Regions from separate parts of the Homo sapiens genome. Here all the other regions are linked to region 4. The links are contacts of gene promoters, found by promoter capture Hi-C in blood cells and fetal thymus (Javierre and others, 2016). All regions are on one chromosome and are shown on one strand. Each heading gives the region's core, a stretch centred on a gene start or on the middle of the fragment in contact. The rest is flanking DNA. Distances are from core to core; before and after follow the strand shown. Region 1 overlaps UBE2O (ubiquitin conjugating enzyme E2 O). Region 2 overlaps UBE2O (ubiquitin conjugating enzyme E2 O). Region 3 overlaps PRPSAP1 (phosphoribosyl pyrophosphate synthetase associated protein 1). Region 4 holds the start of SRP68 (signal recognition particle 68). Region 5 holds the start of PRPSAP1 (phosphoribosyl pyrophosphate synthetase associated protein 1).

The links. Contacts are between HindIII fragments. The CHiCAGO score rates a contact against its expected background, and 5 or more counts as called.
Region 1: a fragment that was not itself captured here is called in contact with the fragment with the promoter of SRP68 in region 4 in 1 of 17 cell types (M0 macrophages); the score reaches 5.1 in M0 macrophages.
Region 2: a fragment that was not itself captured here is called in contact with the fragment with the promoter of SRP68 in region 4 in 1 of 17 cell types (naive CD8 T cells); the score reaches 5.1 in naive CD8 T cells.
Region 3: a contact is called between a fragment that was not itself captured here and the fragment with the promoter of SRP68 in region 4, in 8 of 17 cell types (M2 macrophages, M0 macrophages, M1 macrophages and 5 more). The highest score is 9.8, in M2 macrophages.
Region 5: a fragment that was not itself captured here is called in contact with the fragment with the promoter of SRP68 in region 4 in 10 of 17 cell types (M2 macrophages, M0 macrophages, non-activated CD4 T cells and 7 more); the score reaches 11.2 in M2 macrophages.

What each region holds. Positions count from the first base shown.
Region 1 is chr17:76,441,513-76,444,212 of GRCh38, reverse strand. All of the region lies in intron 1 of UBE2O (ubiquitin conjugating enzyme E2 O), which reads left to right. Among named protein-coding and RNA genes, the nearest start is that of UBE2O, 10 kb to the left of the region's middle. RefSeq lists enhancers at 1,101-1,220, 2,645-2,700. The HindIII fragment of the contact is 490 bases long and covers 1,188-1,677 here.
Region 2 is chr17:76,394,808-76,397,507 of GRCh38, reverse strand. It overlaps UBE2O (ubiquitin conjugating enzyme E2 O), which reads left to right. Exons shown (of 18, transcript NM_022066.4): 14 at 687-1,380; 15 at 1,647-1,783. Among named protein-coding and RNA genes, the nearest start is that of SPHK1, 12 kb to the right of the region's middle. The HindIII fragment of the contact is 6,073 bases long and covers 1-2,700 here.
Region 3 is chr17:76,328,137-76,330,836 of GRCh38, reverse strand. It overlaps PRPSAP1 (phosphoribosyl pyrophosphate synthetase associated protein 1), which reads left to right. Exons shown (of 10, transcript NM_002766.3): 5 at 171-286; 6 at 739-794; 7 at 1,975-2,120. Among named protein-coding and RNA genes, the nearest start is that of QRICH2, 21 kb to the right of the region's middle. The HindIII fragment of the contact is 3,381 bases long and covers 1-2,700 here.
Region 4 is chr17:76,071,221-76,073,920 of GRCh38, reverse strand. It overlaps SRP68 (signal recognition particle 68), which reads left to right and starts at 1,404. Exons shown (of 16, transcript NM_014230.4): 1 at 1,404-1,613. The coding sequence starts at 1,430. It also overlaps a transcript of GALR2 not described here. RefSeq lists enhancers at 462-1,289, 1,242-1,291, 1,290-2,117. The HindIII fragment of the contact is 7,541 bases long and covers 1-2,078 here.
Region 5 is chr17:76,351,247-76,353,946 of GRCh38, reverse strand. PRPSAP1 (phosphoribosyl pyrophosphate synthetase associated protein 1) reads left to right here and starts at 31. Exons shown (of 10, transcript NM_002766.3): 1 at 31-413. The coding sequence starts at 244. RefSeq lists enhancers at 1-65, 915-974, 2,514-2,700 and a silencer at 235-554. The HindIII fragment of the contact is 1,470 bases long and covers 554-2,023 here.

The DNA of each region.
Region 1 (2,700 bases), core at 183-2,682, 370 kb before region 4:
GTCTCAGTCTGTCGCCCAGGCTGGAGTGCAGTGGTGCAACCTTGGCTCACTGCAACCTCTGCCTTCTGGGTTCTAGCGATTCTCCTGCCTCAGCCTCCCAAGTAGCTGGGATTACAGGCTCCCGCCACCACGTCCGAGTAATATTTGTCTTTTTAGCAGAGACGGGGTTTCACCATATTGGTCAGGCTGGTCTCGAACTCTTGACCTCAGGTGATCCATCCGCCTCAGCTTCCCAAAGTGCTGGGATTACAGGCATGAGCTACCGCGCCTGGCCGACCATGCCCTCTTAACGGTATTTCCTTCCTTGGGGTTCTATTATACCAGACTATACCAAATGTTTCTCTTTTTTGCCTTTTGTCTTCTTCCTCTTACCCATAGATGTGCAGCTTTTCCAAAGACCTCTCTTTTCTTTATCTCTTCCTCCCCAGTTTTTTGGAGTGACCTCCCTGCTTGTAGCTGCATCTGGTACCTGTATTTAGGTGACTTCCACAGTGACATCACATGCCCAGCTGCTTACTTGATAGCTCCATTGTGCCATGTAGACTTTGTGGGTATAAAATCTTGTGATTGTGACTGCCCTTCCCATCCCCAAGTCTGTGGACTTAAAAAAAAAAAAAATGTTCTGACTGGGCACAGTGGCTCACGCCTGTAATCCCAGCATTTTGGGAGGCCGAGGTGGGTGGATCACTTGAGGTCAGGAGTTCGAGACCAGCCTGGCCAACATGGTGAAACCCCATCTCTACTAAAAATGCAAAAATTAGCCATGCGTGGTGGTGGGTGCCTGTGATCCCAGCTACTCGGGAGGCTAGGGCAGGAGAATTGCTTGAACCCAGGAGGCAGAGGTTGCAGTGAGCCGAGATCGTGCCCCGGCACTCCAGCCTGGGCGACAGAGTGAGACTCTTTCTCGAGGAAAAAAATATATATATATATTCCCCAACTTTTTTTGTTTTTGGTTCTGAACCCAAGACCCAACTTTTTAATAGGAAAAAATATTGACCATACCAAAATGTTGAAAGCCAGTAATTGCTAACCCCCAACCATTATGAGTCAGCAGTTGTTAACATCCTGCCATATTTGCCTTATCTGTATGCTTATGTAAATATATTTCCTCCTGAATTATGTCTGGTACTAACTCCTGCTAAGTTAGTGGCAGACATGATAGCACTTCACCCCTAAATACCTAAGCTTGAATCTTCTCAAAATTAGAGCATTTGGGGTCATTTTTAATTTACCTTCTTTGGCCCTCATTCTAACTTGTCATCAGTTCTTTGAGAGGCCTCTTGCATCCTGTGCCTGCATTTCCCTTTCACAACCCTGGTTTGCTCTCTGCTTGCCTCATGCCTGCACTGTGTAGCCTTCTCCCTGGTCTCCCTGCCTCTAGTCCTCCTTCAACCAGTGAACAGCGCTGCCGCCAACTGACCTCCAAAGGGCTGACCTCCCAAGTGATCGCCTGGATTGTGTCAGGACCCAGCCTCTGATCATGCCTTGGTTGTCATTCAGGGCCCCTCACCTACACATCCTGCTCTATCTCCTGCCTCTTCAGTTGATTCCAGCCAATCTGACTGCTTTTCCCCAACTCAATTGTGCCGTTCCCTTCCTCTCATGCCCCATGGCACACCCACATTCTCTCCTGGATGGGAAGCTCCTTGAGAAACAGAGACAGCAAATCCTAAAGCTTGTGTGCTATCACGCACATGCAGACTCTTGGGAAACATCTTCATGAATGACCAGTTTGCTCCCTCCCACTTACTACAAATAGTATTCTTAGTCTTCTTCCAGATGCCCTGTGGTCTGTGCTGGAGCTGTATGGGCCCCTTACTAGACCACTCTGTCTCCCACCCCCCGTACTAGGTGTGTTGACCATGTACAGTAATTTATTGCCCAAGTTGGGTTCTTTTGAGAGTACTATGAATAATTACTCCAGGACTGGGACGTATGGGCATCCTAATACTAGGAAGAGCAGATTAATCAGAATACACCATATTGTAGTTACTACTTTGGCAACTTCCGTCGCGGGCTCCCCAGGCAGACTACGTGCATTGTGGACTAGGCTAGAGCTAGCTAGAGCTGGTGTCACCTGTGGTCGAAATGAAGCTGCTTCTGGCTGCATTTCCCCTGTAAGAACCCCGCCTAAAGCACTTGACAAATGGCAGATTCCACACACGTGGGTTTCCTGAATGGTTATCAGCACCCAGTCCTCACCTTAGGAGGATGGCTAAGTACGAACGAGGCTCTCTATTGGAAAAAGAATGCCCCACCCGACTGCAAATGAATCAGGAACGCAGCTTAGGCTATGCACTCTGCCTGCACCAAGACCCTTGGGGGCGGGGCCTGGAGTTGCAGTGGCTATGCCAGGCCTATTACTTTGAAGGAGTCAGGAACCATCTATTGAAAGTAGATATAACCACCCCTGTTTATCAGTGGAGGGGGAGGGGGAAGTGAAGAGAGCATGAATAAATGGATTCTAATCCAGCACTTTTCCAAGGTGAATGCCACATGCCATCACCTAGGGTCTCCTAATGCAAATTGTCCTAATTCCATTGGGCTGAAGAATCTGCGTGTCTAACAAACTCCCAGTGACATTGATGCTGCTGGCTGGGACTGTCTTTTGAATTGCACTTATATGGGCCCTTCCAAACCTCGTTGATGTCAATGGGTTCAGTTTTAGTACGTCTTTGGTTCGAGGCTTTTTCTCTCCCC
Region 2 (2,700 bases), core at 68-2,567, 320 kb before region 4:
GTTCCCTCCTAAAAGGAGATGGAGACTTTCCTACCACCCTTTTTAGAAAGCTCTAACAGAGAAGGAGAGAAAGGAGAGAGCCGACCCAGTTCTAGCCCCACCTGCTGGGTCCTGAGCAGAAGGGCTACACGGGCTCTCCTTCCCTCGCCTCCTGGTTGGAGCCACACAGCCCAGCTCTCCTCTCCTGGTCCACACAGGGGGCAGGAGTGGGGGCGGGAATGGCTTGCCCCATCACCTTAACGGCCATTCCAGGGAACGCAGCAGGATATGTCGGCCCTTCTACATGTCCCCTCTTGTCATATGTTCCCAGCTCCCCACACAGGCCTCCTTGGCTGCATCATTAGCTGACCCTGCGCTTTTCAGGTGTGGGACTGGGCCTGCCAAGGTCCCCTAACGCCTTGGACAGATGCTGACGAAGTGCACAGAGCAGGAGGAGAGGCTGGAACAGACCACTGGCTGGGGCTTTGGGTCCAGCTGGAGGGTGGGACAGGTGAAGGGCCTCTCCCAGAGACCTAGGGACTGCAAAAGCCAGAGCAGAGGTCAGGGAAAGGGTGGAATGAGGTTGCCAAGGCCTCATGAGCCCAGTCGCCATCAGCTGTGCGGATCAGGGATCCCCAGAGCTCCTCCTTAGTGGTGGGGAGGTGACTTCCTGTCTGCTTACCCTGGCACTTCCCTTCTGCCCCCAGCACTTGTACAACATAGAGTCTGAGATTGAGGAGTCAGACTACGATTCGGTAGAAGGCAGCACCAGCGGGGCATCCTCGGATGAATGGGAAGATGATAGTGACAGCTGGGAGACGGACAATGGGCTGGTGGAGGACGAGCACCCCAAGATAGAGGAGCCCCCCATCCCACCCCTGGAGCAGCCGGTGGCCCCTGAGGACAAGGGAGTGGTGATCAGTGAAGAGGCAGCCACAGCTGCCGTCCAGGGGGCTGTGGCCATGGCTGCCCCCATGGCCGGGCTGATGGAGAAGGCTGGCAAGGACGGGCCACCCAAGAGCTTCCGGGAGTTGAAAGAGGCCATCAAGATCCTGGAGAGCCTCAAGAACATGACTGTGGAGCAGCTGCTGACGGGCTCGCCCACCTCTCCGACTGTGGAGCCTGAGAAGCCAACTCGGGAGAAGAAGTTTCTGGATGACATCAAGAAGCTACAGGAAAACCTCAAGAAGACCCTGGACAATGTGGCCATTGTAGAGGAGGAGAAGATGGAAGCAGTGCCCGACGTAGAGCGCAAGGAGGACAAGCCCGAGGGGCAGTCACCTGTGAAGGCTGAGTGGCCCAGCGAAACCCCGGTGCTGTGCCAGCAGTGTGGCGGCAAGCCTGGCGTCACCTTCACCAGCGCCAAGGGCGAGGTCTTCTCCGTACTGGAGTTTGCACCCTGTGAGTCAGCCCTTGCCTGGTCTTCGCCTTCCCCCGCCTTCTCGGGGCTCCTGTTTGTGTCACCAGATCTGGGTGCAGGGTGGTTAGTCCCCTCGCCAGACCCCAGCTACTGCCCCAGGGCAAACCATTTCCCTGTGTGGTCACAGTGCTGAGGCCAGCAGCGGCGAGTGGGAAGTCTGTGGGTGTGCTCACCTGTCCAGCCAGGTTGGCAGATGGAGCTCCAGGGCCTCTCCATGAGGGACTGACTATTCTCTTCCCCCCTCTAGCAAATCATTCTTTTAAGAAAATTGAGTTCCAGCCTCCAGAAGCCAAGAAGTTCTTCAGCACAGTGCGGAAGGAGATGGCGCTGCTGGCTACCTCACTGCCTGAGGGCATCATGGTCAAGACTTTTGAAGATAGAATGGCAAGTAGGCTTGGCATGGGCAGGTGCAGATGTGCTGTGTGGGCACCCAGTGCCCAAGAGGCCACCAACCTTGGGTCCCCAAACCTCCGGGGCTGACTGGCACCTGCGAGGACACTCACCCACCCACCTTTTACAGGGGCGGTCACAGGCTCAGTCAGGTGAGGGCTGACTCAGCCGTGTGTCCAGGCCAGATGGTTCTTTCTTTCCTCCCTCCTTTAAAAAATTACTTTCTCGGCCGGGCGCAGTGGCTCACACCCGTAATCCCAGCACTTTGGGAGGCCGAGGTGGGTGGATCACGAGGTCAGGAGATCGAGACCATCCTGGCTAACACAGTGAAACCCCGTCTCCACTAAAAAAAAAAAAAAAATTACAAAAAACTCTCCCGCCACCATGCGGGCGCCTGTAGTCCCAGCTACTCTGGAGGCTGAGGCAGGAGAATGGCGTGAACCTGGGAGGTGGAGCTTGCAGTGAGCCGAGATCACGCCACTGCACTCCAGCCTGGGTGACAGAGCGAGATTCTGTCTCAAAAAAAAAAATTACTTTGAAATAGGCCGGGTGCGGTGGCTCACGACTGTAATCCCAGCACTTCGGGAAGCCGAGGCAGGTGGATCACCTGAGGTCAGAAGTTTGAGACCAGCCTGACCAACCCGGTGAAACCCTGTCTCTACTAAAAATACAAAAATTAGCCGGATGTGGTGGCGGGTGCCAGTAATCCCAGCTACTCGGGAGACTGAGGCAGGAGAATCACTTGAACCTGGGAGGCAGAGGTTGTAGTGAGCCAAGATCGCACCATTGCACTCCAGCCTGGGCAACAGAGCGAGACTTCATCTCAAAAAAAAAAAAATTACTTTGAAATTAATTATATTATGATTACTCCTCAAGCCTACTTTTCTTTTTGAAAAATTAGAACATTACAG
Region 3 (2,700 bases), core at 155-2,654, 260 kb before region 4:
CATTAAGGCTTTATTAAGGTTAACAATCAAGCCTGTGACTGCAGTGCTTAATCACAGTACCCCGTCTTCAGTCTGCTGGTAGGAAGCAGGAGTTGAGCATCTAGTTTAGGTCCACTGTAGCCATTTACCTGTAGGGGTGAACTTTGTAATTTTTTGTTTTAAAATTTCAGGTTTAACTCACATTATCACTATGGATCTTCATCAAAAGGAAATACAAGGCTTTTTCAGCTTTCCTGTGGACAACCTTAGAGCCTCACCTTTCCTGCTTCAGTATATCCAGGAAGAAGTGAGGAACCACCAGCAAACACCCCATTGTCCTCAAAAGAGATCTTATTTAGTTTTTCTCTGGTATCAGATTTCGTTACTGGAAGGCACATCAAATGAGCTCTCCCTTAAGTCACAATGCCTGAGGCAGCAGACAGGGTCAGCTTTAGTCGTGGACGATCATAGCTTTAAAAGACACTAAAAACAGATTTTTTTTCTACGTATCTTTAGCAATTTGCTTATGTTTTCTAAAATGAATGTTTTAAGAATTATTTTTAAAAAATTCTTGACGTAGGAGTGCTTTTTCCAGTGATGTTAATTGATAAATATTGAAAAATCTAAAACTTGTGACTAAAATTCTAGCATATTTGATGACTAGTTTGGATCATTATAAGAGGGAAAACTTGAATACCAGCATCCAGGTGTTATTTTCTGATAACTTTTCAGTATTTTCTATTTTTCCTTCAAATCTAGATTCCAAATTACAGAAATGCAGTCATTGTAGCTAAGTCTCCTGATGCTGCAAAGAGGTAAGTAAGCTAGACATGGGTCCTGATCCCTCCTGAGTGCTCCCGAAGTCAGAATGAGCTGCTTTGGAATCCAGAGGCTGTCACTCGTGGCCTTTGAAAGCCCACTGGCTCTCATGTTAACCCCTCCATCGTTGTCATGTCCCATGCCACACACAGCTTTATCTCCAGCCTCCAGACAGCACACATGATCGCTGAGTTGCTCAGCTTTCCTCTGGGAAAACAAAGTTCCTTCAAGTTCTCAGAGAAAGGAAAGCAATGAGGCTATGAGCATTTTTCAAGCAATGGTTTTTTTTTTTGTTTTTTTTTTGAAATGGAGTTTCATTCTGTCACCTAGGCTGGAGTGCAATGGCGCGATCTCGGCTCACTGCAACCTCCGCCTCCTGGGTTCAAGCAGCTCTCCTGCCTCAGCCTCCCCAGTAGCTGGGATTACAGGCGCCTGTCACCACTCCTGGCTAGTTTTTTGTATTTTTAGTAGAGATGGGGTTTCACCATGTTCATCAGACTAGTCTTGAACTCCTGACCTCAAGTGATCTGTCTGCCTTGGTCTCCCAAAGTGCTGGGTTTACAGGCGTAAGCCACTGTGCCCGGCCCAGGCAATGGTTTTTAACGTTGTTCTTTCTTCTGAAGATGACTATCAGAATATTGGACAAAGGATAGAATCAAAATTATCTAGAATCAGGGCCAGGCGGGGTGGCTCACGCCTGTAATTCCAGCACTTTGGGAGGCCAAAGCGGGAGATCGCTTGAGCCCAGGGGTTCAAGACCAGCCTGGGCAACATAGACCCCGTCTCTACAAAATACAAAAAATAGCCAGTTGTGGCAACACATGCCTGTGGTCCCCGCTACTCGGGAGGTTGAGGTGGGAGGATCACCTGAGCCTCAGGAGGTTGAGGCTGCAGTGAGCCATGTTGACGCCACTGCACTCCAGCCTGGGTGACAGTGAGACCTTGTCTCAAAAAAAAAAAAAAATGTCTAGAATCAGATACAATCCCAAACCCTAACTCACGTGCCCTTTGAGTCATTTACATGCTGGCCTGGGCCTCACATTCTCATTTATATAAATAATGCCTTTGTATGTCCCTGAAACGTTAAATATTTTCATTTTATGGTTAAAAAATGATGCCGTAGTGATGCGTGGGATTTCTTCCTGTCAGTTTCACCATTTCCCTTTGTCCTTCTAGGGCCCAGTCCTATGCGGAGAGACTGCGTCTGGGTTTGGCCGTCATTCACGGGGAAGCTCAGTGCACGGAACTGGACATGGACGATGGTCGTCACTCCCCGCCTATGGTCAAAAATGCTACTGTGCACCCAGGCCTGGAGTTGCCATGTAAGATGAGCTCTGTGTTTTTATTTTATTTGTAAATTGAAGAAAGTTTTTTTTTGTTGGTTTTGTTGGTTTTGTTGTTGTTGTTTTGTTTTGTTTTGTTTTGTTTTTGAGATGGAGTCTCACTCTGTCACCCAGGCTAGAGTGCAGTGGCGTGATCTTGGCTGACTGCAACCTCTGCCTCCTGGGTTCAAGCAATTCTCCTGCCTCAGCCTCGTGAGTGGCAAAGATTACAGGTGTGTGCCACCACGCCCAGCTAATTTTTGTATTTTTAGTAGAGACAGGGTTTCACCATGTTGGCCAGGCTGGTCTCAAACTCCAGACCTCGTGATCTGCTCCAGACCTGGTGATCTGCTCGCCTCAGCCTCCCAGAGTGCTGGGATTACAGGCATGAGCCACTGCACCTGGCCCTGAAGAAAGTTTTAAGTAGTATGAATGGCTAGGAGTTATCGACTATGTAGATATATGCTGTCTTGTTGTTTTTTAATAATGGAATGGTATTTGCTATCCTCCGCCTTTTTTTTTTTTTTTTTGAGAAAGGATCTCCCCCTGTTGCTCTGTACAGTGGCACAGTCATGGCTCA
Region 4 (2,700 bases), core at 155-2,654:
GCCCACCTCGGCCTCCCAAAGTGCTGGGATTACAGGCGTAAGCCACCGAGCCCGGCCACCTTTTTCCCTTCTCTTACCCATTGAACGTTTTCCCTCCAATTCAATCCAATATACTGAGCATCTATTGTGTCAGGCTCTGTCTTTGGCTCCATGCCTCAGTTTCCTCAGCTGTAACAAGGAAATGGTAACACTTCCTTCTAAGAGGGATCTGCTGAGAAAGGAATGAGATGTATGGGAGAGTTAGTTAAATCTGAATGCATCAGATCCTTATTCTTTTTCTCCTGACCTTATTCCGTATACCTTGAGGAAATTCAAAATAGAGTTCAGGGCCGGGCGCGGTGGTTCACGCCTGTAATCCCAGCACTTTGGGAGGCCGAGGCGGGCGGATCACGAGGTCAGGAGATCGAGACCATCCTGACCAACATGGTGAAACCCCGTCTCCACTAAAAATACAAAAATTAGCGGGACGTGGTGGCAGGCGCCTGTAATCCCAGCTACTCGGGAGGCTGAGGCAGGAGAATGGCTTGAACCCAGGAGGCAGAGGTTGCAGTGAGCCGAGATCACACCATTGCACTCCAGCCTGGGCAACAAGAGCGAAACTCTATCTAAAAAAAAAAAAAAAATCCGTCATTTAATCTTCCTAACAACCACTTAAATTGGTTATCCCCATTTCATAGATGAAGGAACAGATTTACAGGGAGATTAAGTTACGTGCCCAACATGTCCCTGCCGCTAATGACGGAGCGGGGATTGGAATCCCAGGTCTCAGACTCTAGAAGGTGCAAAGCAAAAATTCATATTTTCCCATGTCTCAACACTTCTCCCTCTTTGGACTGACGGCCCCAAAGTGCAGTGGTCCACGGCCCCAAGCGGTCTGAGAAAGTCACCCCGTTAGGACACCGTCTGCTGACTGCGCAGCGCTTCCTCCGGCTTGGCGTTCTTACGGCCAGCCTCAGAGGAAAGGGCAGGCAGAGGCGGGTCCCTTACGGACGGGGTGTCCCGTTCCGGTAGGGAGGACCCCATCTCTTGAGTCCCTGGGGATGCAGACACCCCGAAATCCAGTATCTTTGGTCTCCTGCTTTCTGCTGGGCAGGACGTGAACCAGATCCCCAGTCCAGGATGCAGGACCTGGGGTCCACCTCCGGTTCTCCGCCCTTAGTGGGTGGGAGGTGGGACTGCCCCCTGAGATCTCAGCAGCCACGGTCTCACTGCGGCCTCAAGTCCCCACCTAGCCAGCCACAATTCCGGACCCGGGATGACAGGATCCCTCGCGCAGGCGCGCTCCAGCACATGGCGCCCTGCTGCAGCAAGGGCCGACGGCGGCGGAGTCCGCCGCTATCCCATCAGCCCGGCCAGGCAGGTCCAGCTCTCACCCGCCCAGGTCGTCCCGCCTCCCCTATCCCGTCTTGCTCTGCGGCGCAGGGGCAAGATGGCTGCTGAGAAGCAGGTCCCAGGCGGCGGCGGCGGCGGCGGCAGTGGCGGCGGCGGTGGCAGTGGCGGCGGCGGTAGCGGCGGTGGACGTGGTGCCGGAGGGGAAGAAAATAAAGAAAACGAACGCCCTTCGGCCGGATCGAAGGCAAACAAAGAATTTGGGGATAGCCTGAGTTTGGAGAGTATCCTAGAGTAATCGGGCCTAACTCGCAATGATTACGTGTCGAACTGGAGGGCTGGGGGCGGGAGAGGCGGCGGGTCCCGACAAGTCCTGGCAGGAGAGGCCGAGGGTTGCAGTTTCTCTCGCCCTTACCTTTTGGTGCTCAGAATTCCGGGGGGGGTCTGTCTCTCGACTAGTCTTTCCTCGTGTCCCCCTCGCCGTCCTGGCTAGGTCCGTTTCTTCCAGTGGCACTGGGATATCAGGCAGGTTTCCCCTGGTGCCCCGCAGTTGTCCAGTTGGAGGGCTTGTGACCAAGTGACACCTTGAGCACCTTGCTTTGGCACCTTGAGCCACTGAACTGGGGAGAGGAAACTGCAGTCTTGACATTTGGCTTAATACTCTTGTCTGACAGTCGTCATAGACTGAGTAGTAAAACCTACAGCTCGATACTTTGAAAGTGGAGGTAAAGATTGACTCAGGAAAAGCTTGTTGCCCATTTTGATTGTAAGTTACCGTAGTTAATATCGATTGTGTCATTTTTTTCTGATCGGTCTGTAGGCATTTTATCTTGCTGACAGTCATTCATATAAGCTGGAGGAATCGGTTTCTAGTTTCCATCAGTGTGTATCTCAACCAAGTGCTTGTGGTACTAGTTTGTGACCTTTTGAAATGAATAACAAATGGAGAAAACGTAGGCGAGTTTCTGAAATAACACATTCAACTTGACATCTTAATGTGCTTAAAGTTCTCAGGCGCTTGGAGTTAAATATTTTGAATTACTGGTAATAGTTCCAAGTAGACGCTAGCGAGCCCTGATTTTACTGAGACCTTTATATCTCTTTGTCCCGTTTTAGTAATTTAAAGAGTCCTTTTAGCGTTCACTATTTTAAAATATGTCTCTAGAGAAGTGTTGAGGAAACATTAAAACTATACCTATATAGATGAAGGTCATTGGACTTTCTAAAGATTAGTACATAATCTTAAATATTTTAAGATTATTAAAAGGAGAATCTGGCCATTCTTCTTTTGAAAGAAAAACCTTAATACTTTTATGCAAACTGTAGCCTAGCTTGGTTGACATGTGCTAATCATAGACTCTCTAAGCATCA
Region 5 (2,700 bases), core at 39-2,538, 280 kb before region 4:
CTTCGGATGCCCGGAGGGGGCGGTGGCCTTGCCTCTGGCTCTGAGGCGGCGGCGCCGGGCGCTGCGAAGGCTCGGCCGCTGTAGTCAGTGGTGTGGGGTGCGCAAGGGCACGGACCTCGGAGCTCTCCCCGCTTGCGCCGAGTTTCTCAGCGCCTTCCCCACCCAAACCGGGGTCTCGCAGTCGGAAGCACTCAGAGTGCAGCCCCGCGCGGGGCCGGTCGTAACCGCGCCGCGGGCCGGACGATGCCCAAGAAGCTGCTGCTGTTGCCCCCGCCCTCCGCGTCCTCGGCTTTCCGCGTCCCGCGCGCCCGCCCCGTTCCCCCGCCGGCCATGAACGCCGCTCGCACCGGCTACCGAGTCTTCTCGGCCAACTCCACGGCCGCCTGCACGGAGCTGGCCAAGCGCATCACAGAGTAAGGGGGCGGTGGGAGGGCCGGGCCGGGGGCGGCGGCGCCTAGCTCTCCTTCGCGCCCGGAGGGACCCGCTCCCCTCCACCCGCCCCACCTCCTGCACCTGGGGCGGGAGGCGCGGGCCTTCCCAGCCGGACAAAGCTTGGAGGTGACGGATACCGCCCCCCGCTCCCCGGTTTTGCAGCTGGGAGGCTTGGGGCGGACTCTCGGTGACCTCAGCCCCCCGCCCCGTGACTGGGTCCGCGGCCTGCCTGCCTTTCGTCTCCGCAGTCCCACACCCCGGGGCGGGCCGAGCTTTCTGGAGCCCCGGAGTGCGTGTCTTGGGGAAAGGGGCTCAGGGCTTGGCTTCCTTTCCCACGGCTGGAGTTGACCTGGGAATCTGACCGCCGCCACTCTCAAGTCTCACTGCAGTGAGACCCGCGGGCGTGGTTGTGAGTTGGGGGATCCGACGCGGCAGGTGCGGTCGCAGAGCAAAGGTGTGGGGACTGGCAGTGCGAAGAAGGCAATTCCAGGGAGGCAGATGGGCCGGAGCTGGTGGTAGAAATGACAGGCCTGACCCTGCTTTGTAAATCAGCTTGGGATAAGATCAGTCATTTGTGTCTTTAACCCAACCAAGCCCCTGGTCTTAAGTCGCCTTTGGGGTCTGACAGCTCTGAGATGCCCTCCCAGCCTTGCCACTTACTAGCTCTGTGTCAGTGGGCAAGAGACTTGATTTCCCTGAACCTCATCTGTGAAATGGGCATGGTTGAGAATATTGTATGATCGGGATAATGTAGAAGTAGTATCTGGTTCTAGCAGAGTAGGGGCTCATAGTGGCCCTCTGAATAGTTGTTTACTAAGTGGCCTCTTTTCTTTTTCTTTTTCTTTTCTTTTTTTTTTTTTTTTTTTTTTTGAGACGGAGTCTCGCTCTGTCACCCAGGCTGGAGTGCAGTGGCGAGATCTCGGCTCACTGCAAGCTCCGCCTCCCGGGTTCACGCCATTGTCCTGCCCCAGCCTCCCAAGTAGCTGGGACTACAGGCACCCGCCACCACACCCGGCTCATTTTTTGTATTTTTAGTAGAGACTGGGTTTCACCGTGTTAGCCAGGATGGTTTCGATCTTCTGACCTCGTGATCCGCCCGCCTCGGCCTCCCAAAGTGCTGGGATTACAGGCTTCAGCCACCGCGCCCGGTGAAATGGCCTCTTTTCTAGTTGGCTCTTTTGGAGAATCCCAGAGCTCTGATATAAAGGAGGAGCCTTATATGCCCTTTCTACATACACTTGTTAGAAATCTAAGACATAAAATGAATAGCTCGTCTTTTAATATTTAAAGCCATTTTCACATTTTAAACAGTTTTCATAGAGTTACTTCGTTACTTTTTTAGGGTTGACAAATGATTGCAGGGATATATCTTAAACTTCTGGGGGGAAATGTAGAAGAAAGGGAAAACTTTAGTCATTTTTTTTTCAGCTCTGCTTGTTTTTTTTTTTAATAGTTGGAGTTTTGGAGAGTGGAAGAATGTTAAAAAAACAAATCAATCCTTTTGCAGTCTACTACCTAGTTTCTATTTCTAACCCCTGATTGTTTGTCTTTCTTTCTGAGGCCAACGAAAACACTGACTTTAAACGAAGCTTCTGTGTGTATCTAGTGGTTCAGATTTACCCTACCTGACCTTGAGGGAGAGCAGAGGGGAGCAGGGCACATTTTAAAAGTCAGTGAGGGTTTTTTTTGTTTGTTTGTTTTAGATTCTTTCCTGGCAAATTCCCGAAAGATTTTGAATTACTATAAATGATACATATTCATAAATACTTCCCTTACCTGTTTTACTTGTCGCTCAGTAAGATTTTGTTTTATCTTATCTGTTTTATTTATTTTGAGACAGTCTTGTGTCACCCAGGCTGGAGTGCAGTGGTGCCATCTCGGCTTACTGCAACCTCCACGTCCCAAGTTCAAGCGATTCTCCTGCCTCAGCCTCGAAAGTAGCTGGGATCACAGATGCCCGACACCACACCTGGCTAGTTTTTTGTTTTTTGTTTTTTGTTTTGAGACGGAGTCTCGCTGTCGCCCAGGCTGGAGTGCAGTGGCGCGATCTCGGCTCACTGCAGGCTACGCCCCCAGGGTTCACGCCATTCTCCTGCCTCAGCCTTCCGAGTAGCTGGGACTACAGGCCCCCGCCACCTCGCACAGCTAATTTTTTGTATTTTTAGTAGAGACGGGTTTCACTGTGTTAGCCAGGTTGGTCTCAATCTCCTGACCTCGTGATCCACTCGCCTCGGCCTCCCAAAGTGCTGGGATTACAGGCGTGAGCCA